Linked DNA regions of Homo sapiens: regions 1 and 3 are each linked to region 2. Evidence: promoter capture Hi-C in human tissues and cell types (Jung and others, 2019). All regions are on one chromosome and are shown on one strand. The core of a region is centred on a gene start or on the middle of the fragment in contact, and the rest is flanking DNA. Distances in the headings are between cores, read along the strand shown. Region 1 overlaps CNIH3 (cornichon family AMPA receptor auxiliary protein 3). Region 2 holds the start of WDR26 (WD repeat domain 26). Region 3 has its middle 55 kb from the start of DNAH14.

The links. The method cuts DNA at HindIII sites, captures the fragments that hold promoters and counts their contacts. A contact is called where the count stands out against the background at its distance.
Region 1: a fragment that was not itself captured here is called in contact with the fragment with the promoter of WDR26 in region 2 in 1 of the 25 tissues and cell types used here (mesendoderm cells).
Region 3: a contact is called between a fragment that was not itself captured here and the fragment with the promoter of WDR26 in region 2, in 1 of the 25 tissues and cell types used here (H1 embryonic stem cells).

What each region holds. Positions count from the first base shown.
Region 1 is chr1:224,725,250-224,728,405 of GRCh38, reverse strand. All of the region lies in intron 3 of CNIH3 (cornichon family AMPA receptor auxiliary protein 3), which reads right to left. All of the region lies in intron 1 of CNIH3-AS1 (CNIH3 antisense RNA 1), which reads left to right. Among named protein-coding and RNA genes, the nearest start is that of CNIH3-AS1, 3.8 kb to the left of the region's middle. The HindIII fragment of the contact is 5,372 bases long and covers 1-3,156 here.
Region 2 is chr1:224,433,039-224,436,384 of GRCh38, reverse strand. It overlaps WDR26 (WD repeat domain 26), which reads left to right and starts at 1,588. Exons shown (of 14, transcript NM_001379403.1): 1 at 1,588-2,701. The coding sequence starts at 1,980. It also overlaps a transcript of CNIH3 not described here. RefSeq lists an enhancer at 680-869 and a silencer at 1,210-1,609. The HindIII fragment of the contact is 17,142 bases long and covers 1-3,346 here.
Region 3 is chr1:224,873,345-224,876,534 of GRCh38, reverse strand. No RefSeq gene overlaps it. Among named protein-coding and RNA genes, the nearest start is that of DNAH14, 55 kb to the left of the region's middle. The HindIII fragment of the contact is 4,981 bases long and covers 1-3,190 here.

The DNA of each region.
Region 1 (3,156 bases), core at 344-2,843, 290 kb before region 2:
CTGGCAGGAGGGGGCACGCCATGTCCCTATTGTATCTCCTTATAGGACCTCAGAGCTGTGATAACCAATCCTATCTACCCCCAGCCAAGGCATCACCCTACCCCCTCCCATTCAAAGAGAAAGCCCACTTTCTCAGAGCTGGGTGCGCCAGCCCCGGGAGGCAGTGGCTGTGAGTTCTGCTATGCACATCTCTACATTTTCTAATCATCAGTTTCAGCCACTTAAGCTGAGGCAATTAACATGTTTAGAGACAGCCACCGTGGGCCTGAATCATCCATTATTTCTCCATCTCCATCTCCAATTCCAATGACAAATCTCTGACTGATTACAGTTTGGATTTCAGGTCCCACTCTTAATCACCACTGCTTCTTCTCTCTTTGGGGCTTGATTTATTGTGGAGGCTGCAACCTTCCAAGCAGGGAGGATTCATCACTGTCTCCACGTAGAGGAAAACTGCTTAATGCAGGCCAGCTAGTCACGGAGGTCTCCAGCCTTTTGGAGGTTGGGAAAAAAGCTGAAGAATTTATTCTGCCATTTCAGGTGGCTTCTCTAGATGACCTCTTATGCCTAGAACACTGAACAGGATCCTTACAAGTAGAAGAGGCTCCTCCAATTAATCCAGAGACTTTTAGGAGTGACAGTGACCTTTTGATACACACACTGATCCTTGCCTACTTCACCAGCTGCTTCTTGTCACAATGATGTGGAAGAGGTAAGGAACCTCTTCCTTCTAGACCAAATGGAAATCAGCCAGGCCATTTGCATGAGGCCTGCACCATAGCCATTATGGCTGCCTCCACTCACACCCAGCACTCAGCCTTCTGGAAGGTGGTAAGGTCTCATTTTCCAGCTCTCAGGGGTTGGGGCTGCTGATGGGCTGTGGGCAGAAGTGATGTGGAGAGAAGGCCAGACCACTTAACGGCTGATACAAAATTCTCCAGAGTCTCTTTTCCTTTTCCTCTGACAAAGCAAAAAGCATTTAGGATGGTGGGTACTCCATCATCCTGAAGCCACAAGTAAGGAAAGAGGCCCCCAGGCAACTCATGATGGACTAGAGTGTGAGCAGTAAAGAAACTTGTGTTGTTTTAAGCTGCCAAGAGTTGAGTGTTGTTGTTGTTGTTGTTGTTTTGCCATAGCATGATTTAACCTATCTCATATGATACCATCAGCAAGCCCCAGACTGAGTAATCAATGGGAAAAGCAAAGTTGTGCTCTTCACTGTTTATCCTCCCCCAACCATCCACTCAGCCCTTCCTTAACAAGCCATCGAGGCCGGCAGGACACAGCTCCCTGTCACCGGACATGCTCGGGCAGGGGCTGAATAACCACCAGGCAGGCATAATGCTCATTCATTTGTGTGGGCAGTCAGACCAGGCGTTCCCTCCCAACTCTGAGAGTGTCTGTTATATAAGGACCACCCCTAAAGCTTCTAAGCAAAATACAGAGATGCTGATGCAAGCGCTCACCACAGCCCCATGACCCTGAGTCATCCCTTAGCTTTGGAAAACACTTTTTTTTTTTTAATAAGAGAAGCTGTTGAATGGTGCCAATCTCATTCTTTCAACAAATGGAGAAACTATTTCATGCAAGCCACAGCCTATTGAATTGCCATGTATTATTACCCTGCTTTCTAGAGTCATAAATCCTAAATCTCAATATAAGTATTGTGGGATTACTGAAAGACTGCAATTCATTCCAACCAGGGGGATCATGGAAGGTTTGTGATCAAAGGGAAGTTGGAAAGGGCGAGTAAAACCTAATCACTTATGGGAACCAGAGGTCGGCATCCTAGAAGTGGAACAGTGAAAGCAAAAGCATAGAGAGATGGAAGTCACTGGTCTGGGGTGGCTCCTTAACAAGGCCACCTCAAAGGGCCCCTATTAAAGGACATTAATGATAACCGGTAAGGACTGTGTAAACGCTAACTGTATTCCACCTGTCCTGACTTCCTACCCAGATGCTAATAGTCAATTTTCATTTGCTGGCAAACATTTCCACCTGGATATCCCACAACCACTTTGTGCTGAAATTCACATTCCTATCAGTACCTGCAAACTTTATCTCCTAAATTTCCAACTTCTACTAACCATACCATCTCTGACTCCTTCTTCTCATCAGTCTCCATGTAAGTCTGTTTCCAAATCTTGCTTCTTCACAGCCACTTGCATTTGTTCCTTCCTTTTTATTTATCCTGCCCCTGGACCTCCTCTCCAGGCTGGTGCAAGAACCTTCTAGCAGGTTTCCATCCCTGCACACATGTGCCCTCCACCCAACAGAGCAGTATATGCCATGCTCAGCTCAGCTGTAAGCCATTGTCCACAATCTTGTTTTTCCAGGAATTTTACTTGTCTGCATTCTAAATATTTTATTTCTAGTTATGTATCCTCTCATTCATTCATGTATCCATTTGTTTGCTGTTTTATCCCATCAATGACCTGCAGCTGATTGGTACCCTTTATAGATTATGAAAACAATAGAATCGTGTGCCAAGTCCTGTCTTATTTTTACTACTGTGGTGGAGAGGGGCATCAGGGGTTGTGGGAGAGATTCTTCTTACCCCTAAAGGAAAAGAAGTAGGAAGGGGATGCTTGGAGTTGAAGCAAGGGAATAATGCTCCTGGTGGAGAAAAGGGATTCCTTAAGACCAGGGGAAGGGAGAAGATGAGGGAGATGAAGAGGCAGCAAGCGCCCCTGTTGTTGGAGATCCGTCTGCTCCTGGCTCTCATCATGCATTCCAAGGGCATAGGTTTTCTGAGGGGCTGGTGTCAGCATGCCTGGGACCAAACACTTTAAAAGTCACAGCTATGGAAGCCACAGGGAAGCTCCTGGCACTGAGTTTATCTTGAAGACAGTAGAAGCTGTGAGACTCAGAGTCTCTACCCATCTCTGAATGCCCCTGTCGACTCAGACAACAAGCTTTACAGCTGTAATCCCATAAGTCTCAATATATTAGCCCAGTGTCTCAAAGCATTATATAAATTCCTACAGTTACATAATACTCAACTGTGTGCTATTTAGAAAAGCAGCTACCCATGCTGAGTCTTATTTTACCCATCTGTAAAATGCCATACCTACCAGCCAGGGACACAGGATGTACTATGAATGACAGTGCTCTCAAAAGTGAAGAAGCCTCCAGCAAAAGAAGACACCACTATTG
Region 2 (3,346 bases), core at 339-2,838:
AAACCATTTTGCAAAAATTAAATTTTGCCTAAACAACACTTTTAATAATAAGGTTGTCTAAAGTTAATATACAAACAGGGCTCTCTGAGGGTGTTAACTATCTAGTAATTCAGGCTCTGCTGGATACAGTGACAGAGCTCTATGAACCTCAACTAGAACTCAGGTCGGCCTCAGGTGAATATAAACACTGTATGTGAGTCACCTTGCAATTACAGCTGCCACCTGGAAGCAAATTTAAGCAGTAAGAACTACAAAACCAAATCCCTGTAAGATCCTGCATTGACCTTCCTCTTACTTCTTCCTGTCTGAGGATCCATAAACCTCAGGATTCTTTACTAATTTCTCATCAGCATCATTTTTTATTGTATTTCCAAATTTAAAAACAACTGTCTCCAAAGGCCTCAAAATTACTTTCAGTTATTACTATAATAAATATCAGCGATGTATGATGTATTAATTAGAAACTAAGGTGTTTTTTTTCCCCTCCCCACAGGAAAACTACTTCAGAGAAAGACTTTAAATTTCTGAGAAAATCTTTATACATATTGAGTATAGATGCTATCAACCACATACATGAAAATAATTGTTTGGGGATAATGCACACCATTTGCCAATGATTAAGATTCAGCCCAGTCTTTGTTGCTGCATTTCTACATTCACATAAATTGGTAAGTCATGATGACACAGAAGGCTCACATGCCACGTAAAAATTTCAAGCCTGGATCTGAATGGGTGCCTGAATCCTTCTCAGAATGCATATTTTGGAGGCAACTGTTTGGTTTATGTTACTGCTCCCTAAACTGGGCAGTGACTCAAGAGGCAGCTGGAAGAGAGAAGGAGGTGCTGGGCAAGTGCTAAAAAAGAGTGAAGCCTCAACAGCAGAGTCCCTCCCCTTCTCTACACACCACACAGCCTTTTTGTGACTTCTTGTCCCCATAAGATATGCTCCTCTAGACTAACTCCCCTTCCCAGGGTGGAGCAGAGTCTCACCGGCTCATTATCTCACAGCTCCCGGGATGGCCCCGGGTACAGCAACTGTGTGGCACTTGGCTGTGGAAATTCAAGTTTTTCCACCCTAAAACAAGTAGGTTGTGAAACCCGATTTCGGTCCTGGTTACCATTGAGAGGGGCCTACCACAGCCCTGTGCCTGGAAGTTCCTGCCTGTCGAAGCTCCTAGCCCCCTGCCCCATCCTCACCTTCTGCACCTGATGGAGAAGGTGCAGTCCCTCCGCGCACCTTACATGCCCATGCCACACTGGTGGACTCACGCACGCACGCCAACTCTGCCATCCCATGCACGCCCGGCTTCGGAGGGCGGCTACGAACTTACTGCTCGTCGAGCCAGCCGAGCCAGGGCGCAAGGGGAAAGGCCCGAGCGGGGCCGGGGATAGGATCGGATAGGAGTCGGGGTCGTGGATGGGGTCGGGGCGGACCCCGCCGGCCCGCTGGCCTCCCTCCCCTGACCCCCGGGACAGCCCCCGATGCACGTGCTGGGTGACAGGCCCCCTATAGGTTCCATACCTGCCACCGGAAGTGAGTGAGGAGGGCAGTATAGGCATTTCCTGTGACGCGAGCGCCTGGACTCCATTAGGCAGCAGCTGGGGGAAGAATCAACACACCAGGGAGCAGAGCGGAGCGGATCCGAGGACAGAGGCGGCAGCTGCCTCCGCTGCCGCCCGCCGCCGCCGCCGCCGCAGCCACTGCCGGGGCTCAGCCCAGCGGCGGGCCCCGCGCCCCCGCAGCCGCCCCGCGGCGCCCCCCGGCGCGACCCCCGGGCCGCGCACCCCGAGCTGCCTCCGGGAGGGGGGGGGGAAAGGGCCCGGATCCTCCTTCTCCCCCTCCTCCTCCTCCCCCTCCTCTCACCCTCACCCTCACCCTCCTACCCTGACCCCCTCCCCGCCTCCCCGGCCCCCCTCACCCCGACCCTCTCCCCGGCCCCCGCCTCCCCTCCCCCGCCTCGCCCCACCGGCTTCCCACCACGGCCTCTCTCGGCGAGGAAACTCTGGCCTCCGCTTCCTCCTCCTCCGACTCGGACACCGGCGGAGCCTCCCCGCCCCCGCGGAAGAAACCCCGAGCCTCGGCGGCGGAGGGAGTAGGAGAGCCCGGGGCTTCGGCAGGCAGAGCAGGCCTCTCCCCTCCGTCCTCGTCGTCCTCGTCCTCCTCCTCCTCCTCCTCCTCCGTGGTGGTAGTGGTGGGACTTCCCCCGGCTGCTGCCCCTCCCGCCGCCGCTGCTGTCCCCCACCGAAGTAGCGGCCACAGCCTGGTCAGCGGCAGCATCATGCAGGCCAATGGGGCAGGAGGAGGAGGAGGAGGTGGCGGCGGCGGCGGTGGAGGAGGAGGGGGCGGCGGGGGCCAGGGACAGACCCCGGAACTCGCCTGCTTGTCGGCCCAGAACGGGGAGTCGTCCCCCTCGTCGTCGTCGTCCGCGGGGGACCTGGCCCACGCCAATGGGCTCCTGCCTTCCGCCCCCTCCGCCGCCAGCAACAATAGCAACAGCCTGAATGTCAATAACGGGGTTCCCGGCGGGGCGGCCGCCGCATCCTCAGCCACCGTCGCAGCTGCCTCCGCCACCACCGCCGCCTCCTCTTCCTTGGCCACCCCAGAACTGGGCAGCAGCCTCAAGAAGAAGAAGCGGCTCTCCCAGTCAGATGAGGATGTCATTAGGCTAATAGGACAGCACTTGAATGGCTTAGGGCTCAAGTAAGTATCCCTTACCGCCAGCTGGTGATGGACAGACCGAGGGACGGAGGCTCCAGGGGGGTAGGGGAAGGGGCGGAGGGGGGAGGGGGGCTTGAAAGAGCTCGGTCAAAGAGAATGAGTGCTGGGCACGCAGGACCCAGTACACAGGAGGACGCGGCTCAGGGCGACCGGGGAGGAGGAGCGGACCTGAAAGGAAATAGGGGAAAATCAATCAGTCTGACAAATTGTGAGACGAGACAGGCGTTGAGGGGTTAGGAAGGGTTAGGAGAAACCCAAAGAATGACTTCTCCCCACGCACCTTCAGAGCTTAATTGTCTGTCAATAAAGACAGATGCGGGAGTGTGTTTCTGTATGTGTTGGGGGAGGGGTGGATTAGAGCTGGTGGAAATAATGAACCTTGGAGGATTTGTTTTTCAAGTGTATCTTGGAGGCATCTTTGTGGGACACCTCCCCACCCCCAACCGTGGCAGACAACAACCCAAGCAAACTACCAATCAGGAAAGACAATCACCTACAAGTGTTTATGGGAACGGAGGGGCTGGGATCATTTGGAAAGAGGTTGTTGAATAAATCTGATGCGAATAATGAAGATACAGTGTTGATGTCGTTTAAAGGCCCTTGTGTGTGTGTACAAGAGGCCTAACC
Region 3 (3,190 bases), core at 44-2,543, 440 kb before region 2:
TTTTATAAGGCGAGAGATGAGGATACAGTTTCCTTCTTCTACATGTGTCTTGCCAGTTTCCCCAGCACCATTTATTGAATAGGGCATCCTTTCCCCACTTTCCTAGTATATCAATATTAAAACCTGCAGGGACTTCCATTGCGTTTGTGAGAGCCCAGCACTCCTTTGCCCAAGCATTATGCCTTCACTGCTACCTCAAACTCATCTCCCAAGCCTGAGTAAATGCATCCCAGGCTTCAGCCACTCTGAACTACCAGATCAAATGCACCCTGCCTTTGTTCACTGGGTTCCCTCTGCTGGCAAACTCTCACTCCTCCTTCAAGACTTAGCTCACTGAAGCCTCTCTTGACTTCCATTTAATGTTACCTCCATTAGGATACTTACCACTATTGCCTACACCTGTAATCTTTAGCCCTGAGCTCACTCGGGGATCTTGTAAAAAACACTAGTGCCAGCCTGAGCAATACGGTGAGACCTGTCTCTACAAACATTTTAAAAATTAGCTGAGCATGGTGGTGCATGCCTGTGGTCCCAGCTGCTTGAGAGGCTGAGGCAAGGAGGATTGCTTGAGTCCAGGAGGTTGAAACTAAAGTGAGCCACAAACACACCACTCCACTCCAGCCTGAGCAACAAAGCAAGACTGTCTCAAAAACAAAAAGCCAAAAACCAATGCTTGGGCCCTACACCCAGAGATTCAGACCCTGCTGGTCTAGGGTGAGCCCTGGAGGGAGGTACTTTGAATTCTGGGGCACTGGATTCATCCTCAGCACCTTCCCCAGGACGTGGAACAAAATAGGACTTCAATTACAAATCGTGTGTTTGTTGAGTGAATAAAACAAGCAGCTTTAAACCCCTCTGTCAGTCAGGTGCTGTTATCTCATTTGCAACTGAAGAACTGAGGCTGAAGGACATTAAGTGATTTGTCTAAGATTACAGGGAGCAACTTGAATTTAATTCTTCTGATTCCAAGTGTGGTGTTCTGCCTGTGCATACGGAAGAAGGACGACACCCAGGAATGTGCCCACTGCAGATGGGAGCTGGAAGAAACTGCCGTTATGTGGAGCTCAATGTCTCCTTTTGGTTATTTTGATGCATGTTTGGGGAGGGACTTTTGCTGTCCCAGTGCATTGTCTTGAATTTTAAAGGTTATCCTTAAAACTCATGCTTCCTTAAAACTTTTTCCCTCCTCTTGCTTTTAATGAATTATGAGCCATTACTTATTTATAACTAATCTACTGCTGCCTTTATGAGGCAGAAAATGAACTACTTTCCAAAGTAATTACCCTTTTTATAGACTTAGAACAAATGCCCATAGCCCCTTCCTTTCTATATGGCTGGTGCGCTAGGTTTCTACTGTCTTGTTTGACATGCCTCAGTCTCTATGCTTGTAATAGATCCATTTAGATTATTTTTCTAACTCACCCTAGAAGCCAGACAGACTTGCTCAGAAAGCTGGCTTGTTCCTGCAATAAATCAAGCATTTTGAGCAAAAGGCTGTTCCTCTCCCAACAGTGAACACGTGCCTTAATATTAACACAGCCTTCTCGGGGCCTTAAGACTAATACAGCCTTCTCCAGAACAGACGCCGCAAGACTAACACGGCTCATAATCTGCTTTTCACAGGTGCACTGAAGTGTGCGGTCTGGTCACCCAGCCCGGCAGCCAGAGGGGAAGCCTTGCCCTTTATTCAGCTTAGGGCAGAAACCATTCAGGCATTCATGTCAAAAGAAAAATCACTGCAAAAGAAAAATGAAAACCCTACTAGTTGTTAATTTGACTCAATATTTATATTTAATAGTTACATTTAATATTGCTATTATAAATGTCATTTTCCCACTTTTGATGGGACTTTATATATAAATGTATATACACAGAGCAACATATTCATTTAATAATCATTCATATTGTTTCTAAAATGAACTGAACACTGTGGAAGTTGCTGTCACCAGCTATTTCATCACATCTCCTCCATATTTCAATTTTTACTGAATATTATATTAGAAGTCTAAAATCCTCCAAGCTCCAAATATAACTTTTAAAGGCAATATCAAATCAATATTTAAAAGAGTGAGGGTAGGAAATCCAGTAGAATTGCAAACCCATTACAGATAGATTTCAATGGTCTGGATTCGTTAAGAAAAAGGATTTTAAAATAAAAATGCATTAGGTCTACAGTCAACATGATCCTCATATTTTGCTCTCTGACCATGGCTCAGAAATTGCCAGGTCTGGCCTCTCATTTCTTCTTTCCCAGGATTACAAGGAAGACTTTGAACTCAGCTCCAGAGTTCACCTAAAGATTAACCTGTAAATGGACTGTAGCTGTTAAAAAGAAAAAAAAATTGTGAGTCCATTAGGCTGAGAAGACTCTTGTGCCTCAGATTCCTGCAAAAGCAAACCTAAGCTCAATATAAACAGAAAAATGAAACTTAAGCTTAACCAATCAGAAACCACCAGTTAACCTCTAACTAGGAACTTTCCACTTTAGCCAAATTTTTTTTTATATAAAAGTAAATATTTTTTACTTCCCCAAACACCTTATAAAATTTTCCTCTCTCTGCCTCCCGGGTCCCCCACAGTGGAGTGCTGAACCATGGGTGGTCCAGTGTTATTGATTCATGAATTCCTGTCTACTCAAATATACTCTTTAAAGTTTTAATGTGCCTAAGTTTATCTTTTAAAATAGCCCATGATGTGGTGGCTTTTAAACTTTATTTGGGGATGATAATCAGAGGTGCCATAAGCAGCAGTGAGATTTTAAATGAGTCACTAAAACCCGTCTTGGCTCAGTTTTCCTTATTGTGAAATGAGGCATCTGTGGATTTATGACAAGAGCTAGGAAGCGTGGAGTAATCTGTAGGTGGGAAAAAAGAATTGCAGATCATATGAAAGATTTAGCAGCAGACTTCCACAGTTGTCATGTAGAAAAGGTCAGATGCATGTTTCTTTATGCCCAGCCCCCAGCTGGGTGTCTGATCTTGCCTGCCTCCTCAGTGAAGGAGAGGAGGGGAGAGTTGGTGAAAGGAGAGGGAGTGAATAGGAGAGGAGACAAGGAGGGAGAAGAGAAAGGAAAGAGAATAAATGAATGAGTAATGAATGAGTGATGCAGGGAGGTCAATGCGTGAAGGTGATGGGTTACTCACACTCATCAAGCCTGGTGACAAGTGGACCTGGGCAGAAGTAGCTGGAT